Linked DNA regions of Homo sapiens: region 2 is linked to region 1. Evidence: promoter capture Hi-C in human tissues and cell types (Jung and others, 2019). All regions are on one chromosome and are shown on one strand. The core of a region is centred on a gene start or on the middle of the fragment in contact, and the rest is flanking DNA. Distances in the headings are between cores, read along the strand shown.

Region 1 (4,778 bases), core at 903-3,402:
GACAAGAAAGGACAATCCATGCATGGGGACCATCACATGCCAAGCACAGAGGTACAAAAAACAGCACAGGGTGTGCAAGAAACTCATACTGGTAGGTCGGAAAACAATTAACGGCCCTTCATATTCTTGGCATCTGCCACCCGATGTGACTCAGGAATTCCGGTTCTGACCCCTTCCTCAAACTCAGTGCAAGCTTCAATCCCCAGAGAAGAGTCTGAATTCCCCATACTTAGACACTGCAGTGGGTAACCAACCTTAACTGCCGGCTCCCAGACTAGGGTGGCCCAGTCCACAGAGAGAGAGTTGAGAGGGATGGAGAATACATAAATCTCTAGCTATATTTAGCCTGCCTGGCGTGTGTCTGTCCCTTTACGCACCCCAGGGCTGACCCACAGGTGGCAGAATGGCTTTTTACTAGAATAGTATAAACATTTTTAAATTAAGAAACCAAGGAAAGGGGCCTGTGCCGAGGTGCCTCATCCCAGTGTCTATGTGGCGAGAATATCTGCTGCCCTATTTGCCAACATCCCCAGATATCTCCTGACCCGCGGGTGGGTTCTCCCCCAACCTGGCAATAGCCCTGTCCACAGGAGGTAGAGGCCACCCTCCAGTAAGCAGACCTGGGTTCTAATCCCACCTCTGCCACTGACTAGCTGGTGACTCTGCTGATGATTACAGCTCTCTGGGAATTTGAACGTTTGAGTGCAGTTGCTCAGAGGCTTGTAAAGTAGGAGTTGGCTCCTCTTCCATAAGCTGACCCTGGGAATCCTGGGCTCAGCACTGTCCACTTCAACCCGCTCCAGGGGAAATTATTCTTTAAGAGCATGTAATGCCTAGAAGGGAGAGCTATATGGGAGTGTTATAGCAGAGATGGGGTGATATGTCCCTCTTCCAGAACCTCACACTAAATTAACCTCACAGCTGACTTGCTTCCCCATTGAGCCGAGCCTTTGTGCTTTAGACACACACACACTCCTCTCACCTTTTGCCCAAAGGATGCTACAAAGGCCCAGCCTTAAGACAAAATACTTCTAAATACTTGGGCGTGTGAGGGGAGGGAGGGCAGAGAGACACAGGTCCCACTCCAGATTCTCCCACTACTAGCTGTGTGACCTTGGGTGAGTCATTTCACCTCTTCTGACACTCAATTTTTTTATTTGTAAAACTGGGATACACATCTTTATCGCGAAGCTTCTTTGCATACCGAGCTGGGGTATGCAAAGTGCTGGGCACTGAACCTCCACGGGCACGCGCGGGCGCGGGACCGCTGATCTGTTCCCACAATTACCATGTATTTTCCAGTAAGGCCTCCTCCTACCCCGTTAACCTGCTCCGGATCCCCTCACTCCGGTCCCAGAAATTCTGGGGCGATTTTAACTAGGGGGCGATGCGATCTGCAGCAGCGACTCCGAGGGGGCGAAGGAGTCCCCAGTGGAGCGGACACCAGAGGGGGGCGCAACCGGGGTGCGCGTGGGAACGTGGCCAAAGCACGGCAGCATGTGCCGCGGGGGCGCTGGGAGGCTGGAAACTGGGGTGCCCCTGAGAGCACCCCTCACTCTCGGCAGCTGCAGTCTTGGCACCACGGGTGGCTTCTGACCGTCGGAAGCCCTGGCGAGCCCGGCTCCAGTCACCCCCACCCAGGTCGCCTTGAGTTTGCTCATCAGCGCCCTCGGGCTGGAACAAAGGCGAGGGGGCGCGCGGCATCGCCCCAGCGGCCCTTTTTGCGCATCTGGCCAAAGCCGGGAGAATGAGGACTGGGGTCCCCAAGGTAACCAGGACGCGGTACCCGCCCTCCCGGGGCGCAAAGCCCAGCCGCGGGGCGCGCGCCGAGCTGAGGTCCGGGAGGTACCGGAGACTCCAGCCCGCTGCGAGCCGAGGGCTCCAAGGGCCGTGGGGTAGCTCTCCAGAGTCACCCAGCGGGTCCCCCGGAGGAGAGAAGCCCGGCGCCCGCCTCCCGGGCAGGGCTCCCCGGCGTACCTGGCAGGGTCCGGTGCACCGTGTTGCCCATCGCTGCGTCGGGCGCGGCGTTGGCGGCGGCGCGCTCTGGGCGCGCGGAGGCTAATTACGCGGCGGGCCAGGGACCAGGACCGGGGTCGACGCTCCGGGGCATCGCAGCTGCACGGGCGAGCCGGCGGGCGGCAGCTGGGGCGGGAGCCGGGAGGGAGGCGGCGGCGGCGCCTGCGGGAGGAGGAGGCGGAGCCACCGGCCCGGGCCCGCCGGCTCCGCCCCCGCCTCCCACCGCCTCCAACAGTGCAGGGGCGGGGCCGCGGCCGCCGCATCTTTTGAAAGTTTGCACCAGGCGGCGGGAGAAGCACAGCCAAGCCTCCCGCCCTCGCCGCTCCCGCGCCCGGGCCGGGAAGGCGCGCAGGGCAGCTGGGTGCCCTCGGGTGCCAGGATCGGCAGTCTGCTGGCCTGTCACCCATTTGTTCTAACACTTTGAGAAGGCCCACTGTGTGCCAGGCCCTCTTCCAGGCGCGGGGCCCCAGCCGGCCGAGTCCTAGCCCCGGCAGACCTCTTTGGAGAGTGCTTCGGCCCCGGGGGAACTTACACAGAGGCAGACGGGCCCCTGGGACCATGTAAAGGGCTTGGAGACAGTACACCCAGGGTTCCCGGGTTTGGGTGGAGTCTTTTCTATCCCCTAGGCCAGGTACCGAGGAATAGAAGAAACCCAGTGTCCAAAGATTGGGAAGAGGGAACCCACATTCATTAATTTATTCGCTCATTCACTAAAATATTTATTGAGCACAGTCTATGCACCAGGCACTGTGCTGGGCCGGGTAGATACAGACAAGGTCCCCACTGCCCTGGAGATGGCATGCTGAAGATAGAAATAACAAGCAATTACGATCACATTATATAATAATCAAAGCCAGGAAGAAAATAAAACAGATCCCAGTAGAGTGAGGAGATGACATTGTTTGGGGGCATAGGGAGAATCTGGGGTGGGGGCACATAAGCTCCATCTGATGGACTAGAAGGCGTCGGCCATGAGAAGAGATAGGTAGAGTGTTCCTGGCAGAGGCAGTAACAGGCATTCCTCATTCAGGCACCTGGACCACACTCAGTGGGAAGTGCAGCTGTGCCCTTCTCGAGCTCCATTTCACAGGCTGGAACGCTGAGGCCCAGGAAGTGCAATGACTTCCCCAAGAAGACCCGATTCCAAATGAGCTGTTTTTTTCAATTCTATTTTTCATGCTCTTGTATCCCTTGAGACTTTATGAAATATGTATTATTACTTCCATTTCACAGATAGGGAAATTGAGGCTCTGAGAGTGGAAGAGAGGTGCCCAAGATCTTCCAATGGTACAGGGCAAAGCTAGCCTGAAGCTATGCGAATAAAAGCGGGGTATTCAGGAGACAGCCTTCTGCATCTCCGGTGCCTTCTGCTTACAGTACATGACCCATCCCAGAGGGTTCTAGGGTCTTTAAGGCCAGCTCCAAGCTTCCACTTCCGGGAAACCTTGATTCCCCACTCCCCCCTGACGTCATATGTCTGAACATAAGATTGCCTTGCATTTGAGTTACTAATTTCTCATATTACAGGTGCTCGCCCAGTGACTTAATTTTTAACCCCAAAGTTCTGTTTGAGAAAGGTCCGTTAGCGTGATCCTTTTTTTTTTTCTTTTTTTTTTTGAGACAGAGTCTCACTCTGTCACCCAGGCTGGAGTGGAATGGCACAATCTTGGCTCACTGCAACCTCTGCCTACCAAGTTCAAGCAATTCTCCTGCCTCAGCCTCTTGAGTAGCTGGGATTACAGGCACCCACTACCACGCCCCGCTAATTTTTGTATTTTTAGTAGAGATGGGATTTCATCATGTTGGCCAGGCTGGTCTCAAACTTCTGACCTCAAGCGGTTCCCCCACCTCAGCCTCCCAAAGTGCTGGGATTACAGGCCTAAGCCACCTCACCTGGCTGATCCTCCTTTAATCTATGTGACATTGGGTTGCATATGGAGGTCAGCAATATTATAAAGGGAATTGAGGGAATTTTCCTCAGATAAGGCAATGCAAACAAATATGACTTTGTGACGGCAAGGGTGAGAGGTTGTGAACAGGCCTTTTAAAGGCCACTTTCAGAGTACCTCAGTAAGTGGCCATGTTGTGCAGATCACAAATACTCACCTGCAGCAAATGAATCCCTACTGTCAAAATGTGATGCGGATTGGACCTGCGGTGGAGACACTGTGCCCAGCAGTTGCCTGACATGTGGATTCGAAAGGGCTGTGTGTTAGCCTCTGGATCTCTGAGAGTAGGACCTGCTCTAGTAAAAAGCTGCCCCCAACACACACGATGGTGACACTAGTGTCAAAGCCACACAGAAAAGAATTAGAATCAAATTGTTTCCTGAAATTTGAAACTGCCAAAAGCAATCTTTCCATATTAGTATTCTCTATGAGAATAATTGCAAATATGTTTATATAACTAAAGTAATAAATGAAATATTTCAAGTAGATGTCTATTTCATCTTCACCCCATTAAGTTTATATTATTCAATAAGAAAGTGCATCTTCTCATAGGGAGAATGGGGATTGCCTGTAATCTTTACTTGGATTACCTTATATTTGGGCACATACAGCAGTTGCTCACCCATCTGAGATCCCTCTGCACTTTGTGCTGTCCCCTCAATTACACCCTCAAGACAGGTGTTGTAGCTGTTACCTTTGCGTCCTCTCCACTGCCAGACAGGATGCTCCTGCAGGCAGGAAGAAGGCTGTAATCATCTAGGAAACCCCAGTGCCCAGAACAGGGCTGGCAGACACAGGTGCTCAATACACATT
Region 2 (4,778 bases), core at 589-3,088, 84 kb after region 1:
AGGTTTTTAGTAGGTTTATCCAAACTGTGAATTTTATTGTACGTGGATTATATCTCAATAAAGCTGAGAGCGTGCAAAAGACTTTATTCCTTCCAGCCAGGTCCATGGGTCCCAGCACTGCTGCCTCCTTAACTGGTTGCAAAACAGAAACCGGCACTCTCTCTCCTCTCTCCTTTCTCAGGTTCCTGGGCCAGTCTCCCAAGACAGTGAGTAATTAGCCGCGAAAGAGTCTTGGATGTGAAGCCAAAAACAACAGCAGTGTCACATCAGATGCTGAGACATCTCCAGCTAAGAGCTGAGCTCAGCCCCCACCCGCCCCCTCCACCCCCCAGCCGCAGCCACCAGCAGAAGGAAAACAGCCCCGTGCGGCTGAGTTCAACCAGGGCTGCCTTTCTCCACCGTGTCCGCCATTCTGGTCTCGTGCCGCAGCAGGCATTGCTAGATGATTGCCGTCATGGCTCATACTAACAATAAATAGGTCCTCCCGGGGACCCACCACCCAAACTCCTTGTGCCGGGAACAGCTACTAAAGGGGAGGCCCTTTCCATATTCCGCTTCATTCTCCCCTCCTGGCGTGCCTCAAGGAACGACCACTGTCCCCAGGTTACAGGTGAGGAAGCCGAGGCTCTGAAATATGACTGCGCCAAGTGGCCAGAATCTCGAGCAGCCTGACTGCCTCCCGCCCCAGCCCCTGGAGGCCTCGAGTCCTCCTTTACAGAAATGCCTCCCACCCCCAGCCCAGTTCATTCCAGCAGCCTCCGAGCTCCCCCTTCTCCATCCCTCCCTGCGGTCTGAGCCCTGCCTTCCGAGCCCTGCCTTCCCAGTGTGGAAGGGGAACTGGGTGGGGTAAGGCACCTCTGTTTTCTCACGAAAAAGTCCCTCTCTAGGGCGGAGGCCCTTGAAGAAGAAGGAAAGGCTGTGGGGATTGATGGGCCCCTGGAGGACTGTCATGGGGGGTGGGTGTCTGCAAGTCCAGAGGCACATCCTGCCCCCTTTCAGGGGCCTCTGGTGTGGGGTCTGGAAGTGAGTGGCTGGTGCAGGCTGTGGTCTTCCTGCTAAGCCACTAGGGCTGCTGGGGCCATAGCCTCCAGAGCCTGCTCACAACTGGTCTACTCAGCCTCCAGTCCAAGCCGCTGAGCACAGATCTCAGGGCCCTGCACGTTCTGGGCCGTGCCTCCTGACATCTGAGATGAGAACGAGCCCTCCAGGAGGTCCCATATGATGTGCCCCTGTGACCTGCATTGTCTGGAGGCAGTAGACCCAGTAGTTGGTGACCAGGAGTGAAAATCTGAACAGTCTCCTGTGTGTCCCTGGGCAACTTGCTCAACCTCACTGATCTCTGAAAATGGGCACGATAATAGGACCTGGGTGGTTGAGAGTACACCACAGGACCACATGTGCCTTTCTTGGCCCACACTGGTCCTTCTGCCTGGAATTATTTTCCACTTGTCAGGTGCTTCTTCACCCCAACAAGGCTCAATCAAGTGTGTTCTTCTCTGGGAAGCTGCAGACATCTGACCCCAGGCCACAGAGTCATACCCAGTCTGGCTCCCACAGCCCTCCCAGGCTGTCTGGTGTCAGTGCAGTGCTGTGGATGGGAACACACCTCTACCATGTTGAGCTGCTCTGAGGTTTAAATGCGTTACTGCTAATTGGGATCTTGGAACAACTCCTGGTGCATAGTGAGTACTCAAGAAAATGTGATGTCTCTTTATTCTCTTAGCAACTTTTGTCCTGGGTGAAAGTTGTCTGCCCTCCTCACCGGCCTGCAGGCTCTTCTAGGGCAGGATGGGGCTTGGTTCCTGTCTGCATCTGGTGAATCCCCTGACACACATTAGGTATCCTTACTCAAGGGAAGAGGGGCTTGCCTTTGGGACGGGGATGATGAAACTCAGCAGCCTTTGCAGGGTTTGTGATTTAGCCTGTGTCATTTTTGTGTGTCAGCGTAACTCTGGCTTGGCTTAGCTCTGTCAAACTCTGTGGGATAAGAAGAGCAGAGCATGAACCTGAAAACACACCCCAACCCCAAATTATTTCTGTTTCCAGGACACACACAGGACAGACTGGAATAAATACTGGTGGTTTATCACAGGAAGGCTGGCCTCAGCTTGGGAGAGTAAGCGTGCATGCATACACAGCCAGCTGATTTATTGTGACCCGAGCCAAGCACTGAACAGAGCGAGGCCATTTATCTACTTGGTTGGAGGAGAGGTCAAGAGAGAGAAGTCAGAGATTAAGCTAAATAGTTCAGTGCCTTTGTTAACTCCCGGGGCGTCTCCTCTGCGCGGCTTGTGTTCCCAGGGAATACTGTCATGAGCTCCACAGGGAAGACTGGACTCCTTCTTGGGGAGACAGCCCTGGCCCCAGGGAGCAGCGTGGCCAAGGACATTCTCAGCCTCTTGGGGTTGCCAAAAGGGAGCAGAAGCAGGAGGAGGGAGGGGGGGAGCTGGGAGGAACACCCCATCGTGGAAGACCTGCTGCCAATGCGGGGCTGCAGTCCCAGTCTCTGCCGCCACCAGACCCTGGTCAGGAGACATCACAGACAGGCTCCCTTCTCCCGCCTTCATTCAGGGCTCTGCTCAAACAGCCCATTTGCAATAGGACTTCCTGCAGTGTCCTAGTTAAATACCCCAACCCATGCCCCCATCGTACGCTATCCCTTCCCCTGCTTTATGTTTCTTCATGGTGCTCAGCACCCTGACATATCTATGTCTGTATTTGTTTACTTATTGTTGGGTCTGTTTTTGAATGAAGTGCTATGTCTGTGGTGTAAAGTCCAACATGTGGCAGATTCTAGGTGCTCAATAAATATCTATTCAGTGAATGACGAATTGTTGCTAATAGTTTACAACTGCTGAATATGTGCCTAGATAAGCTTTGTAGATCTCACTGTATATAACACCTCAACAGTACCATGCTGTACATACTGTCCTTAGGCTCAGAGAGGCGAAGTGGCTTGCCCATGGCCACACAGCTGGAACCAGATTCAAACTCACCTGGCATCAGGGCCTGAGCTCTCAGCCACTCTCCCAAGAGAGGACATGGCCATGGACTTGTTTAGAGAAGGATTAGTCACGCCCCAGCCCAAGGCATCCTAGGAAAGGGGAACCTTGATCTGAAAAGAAATACTTTTTGCCTTCTCCCTGCCTTCATTCAGGGCTCTGATTCATTGCAAGAAGGCAAAAAAGAAAATTCTTTTTTAACAGTGAGATGACTTGGATGATTAAAGAGGAAGCTAAATATCCTAAATATTGAAAGCAAATTCCAGCCAGGCGCAGTGGCTCATGCCTGTAATCCAGCACTTTGGGAGGCTGAGGCGGGCGGATCATGAGGTCAGGAGAACGAGACCAGCCTGAAACCCCGTCTCTACTAAAAATACAAAAATTAGCTGGGCATGGTGGCACACGCCTGTAGTCCCAGCTACTCGGGAGGCTGAGGCAGGAAAATCTGGGAGGCGGAGGTTGCAGTGAGCCGAGATCGCGCCACTGCACTCCAGCCTGGCGACAGAGCGTGACTCCATCTCAAAAAAAAGAAAGAAAGCAAATTCCACCTAAAATGGAATTACCACTGTTTATTGAAAACCGCTGTGTGCCAGGCATCAGCCAAGAGCTTCCCGTCCATGACCCTGTTTAATCTTCCTGATAACCCCCAGCAGCACATTCTGTTATTATCACCATTGTAATAATAGCATGGCAGAGGAAGGCCTAGTTGTTTTCCTAGGGTCGCTGTATTAGTCAGGGTTCTCTAGAGGGACAGAACTAATGGAATAGATATACATATAAAGGGGAGTTTATTACGTATTAACTCACGTGATCATAAGGTCCCACAATAGGCCGTCTGCAGGCTGAGAGCCAGTCCGAGTTCCAAAACTGAAGAACTTGGAGTCCGGTGTTCGAGGGCAGGAAGCATCCAGCATGGGAGAAAGATACAGGCTGGGAGGCTAGGCCAGTCTCTCTTTTCGCATTTTTTTGCCTGCTTATATTCTAGCCGTGCTAGCAGCTGATTAGATGGTGCCCACCCAGATAAAGAGTGGGTCTGCTTTTTCCAGCCCACTGACTCCAATGTTAATCTCCTTTGGCAACACCCTCACAGACACACCGAGGATCAATACTTTGTATTCTTCAATCCAGTCAAGTTGACACTCAGTATTAACCATCACAGCCAGTAAGTTAGTGAGCAGCCCATCTCATTCCAGAGCCTGGGTCATCTCCTCTTTAACCTGCTGCTTTCATGCCTCATTGTATTAGACATAAAGTTGTAAGCTCCCAAATTGTACCATGCATTTGGCAAGGGGAGAGTCGGGGTCTGGCTTATCTTTTTATTCTCAGTGCAACGCTGGCTATAGGTGGGTGCTCGGTGAGGGTTTGCCGACTGGCTGGATGAATGAATGGAGGAGGGATGTGAGTGAAAAGGGGAGTGGTTTTCAAGTTAATCTGAAGACATCGTCTCTAGAACACTGAGGCCTAGATCCCTAGAACACTCTCAAGAACACTGCCTCAGAAGCCCACATGCGGCTCGTTAAGTGTTCAGATTCCTGGACTCCAAGGCAGCCTCTGGTCAGAAGACCTGAAGCCTAGAAAACTGCATTGCCAGGAGATTCTGATGTTCACCGAAGTTCGAGACCTGCAGCCTGAAGCTCAGCTCAAATATCCCCACTGAACTGGGGCCCCTTTCACACACTGGAGCCCCTGGATGCTGCCAATTGGCATCTGCCGGCTGCATAAACGAAGGCCGGCTGGAGGCGGTCCAGGGAAAAGTGAGAGAGATTACCAAGGGTG

Evidence for each region. The method cuts DNA at HindIII sites, captures the fragments that hold promoters and counts their contacts. A contact is called where the count stands out against the background at its distance.
Region 2: a fragment that was not itself captured here is called in contact with the fragment with the promoter of NEURL1B in region 1 in 2 of the 25 tissues and cell types used here (liver and thymus).

Annotation. Positions count from the first base shown.
Region 1 is chr5:172,638,637-172,643,414 of GRCh38, reverse strand. It overlaps NEURL1B (neuralized E3 ubiquitin protein ligase 1B), which reads right to left and starts at 2,152. Exons shown (of 5, transcript NM_001142651.3): 1 at 1,978-2,152. The coding sequence starts at 2,008. RefSeq lists a silencer at 2,101-2,390. The HindIII fragment of the contact is 6,548 bases long and covers 693-4,778 here.
Region 2 is chr5:172,554,771-172,559,548 of GRCh38, reverse strand. It overlaps LINC01944 (long intergenic non-protein coding RNA 1944), which reads left to right and starts at 535. Exons shown (of 3, transcript NR_146726.1): 1 at 535-610; 2 at 1,454-1,682; 3 at 2,047-2,824. The HindIII fragment of the contact is 4,288 bases long and covers 1-3,982 here.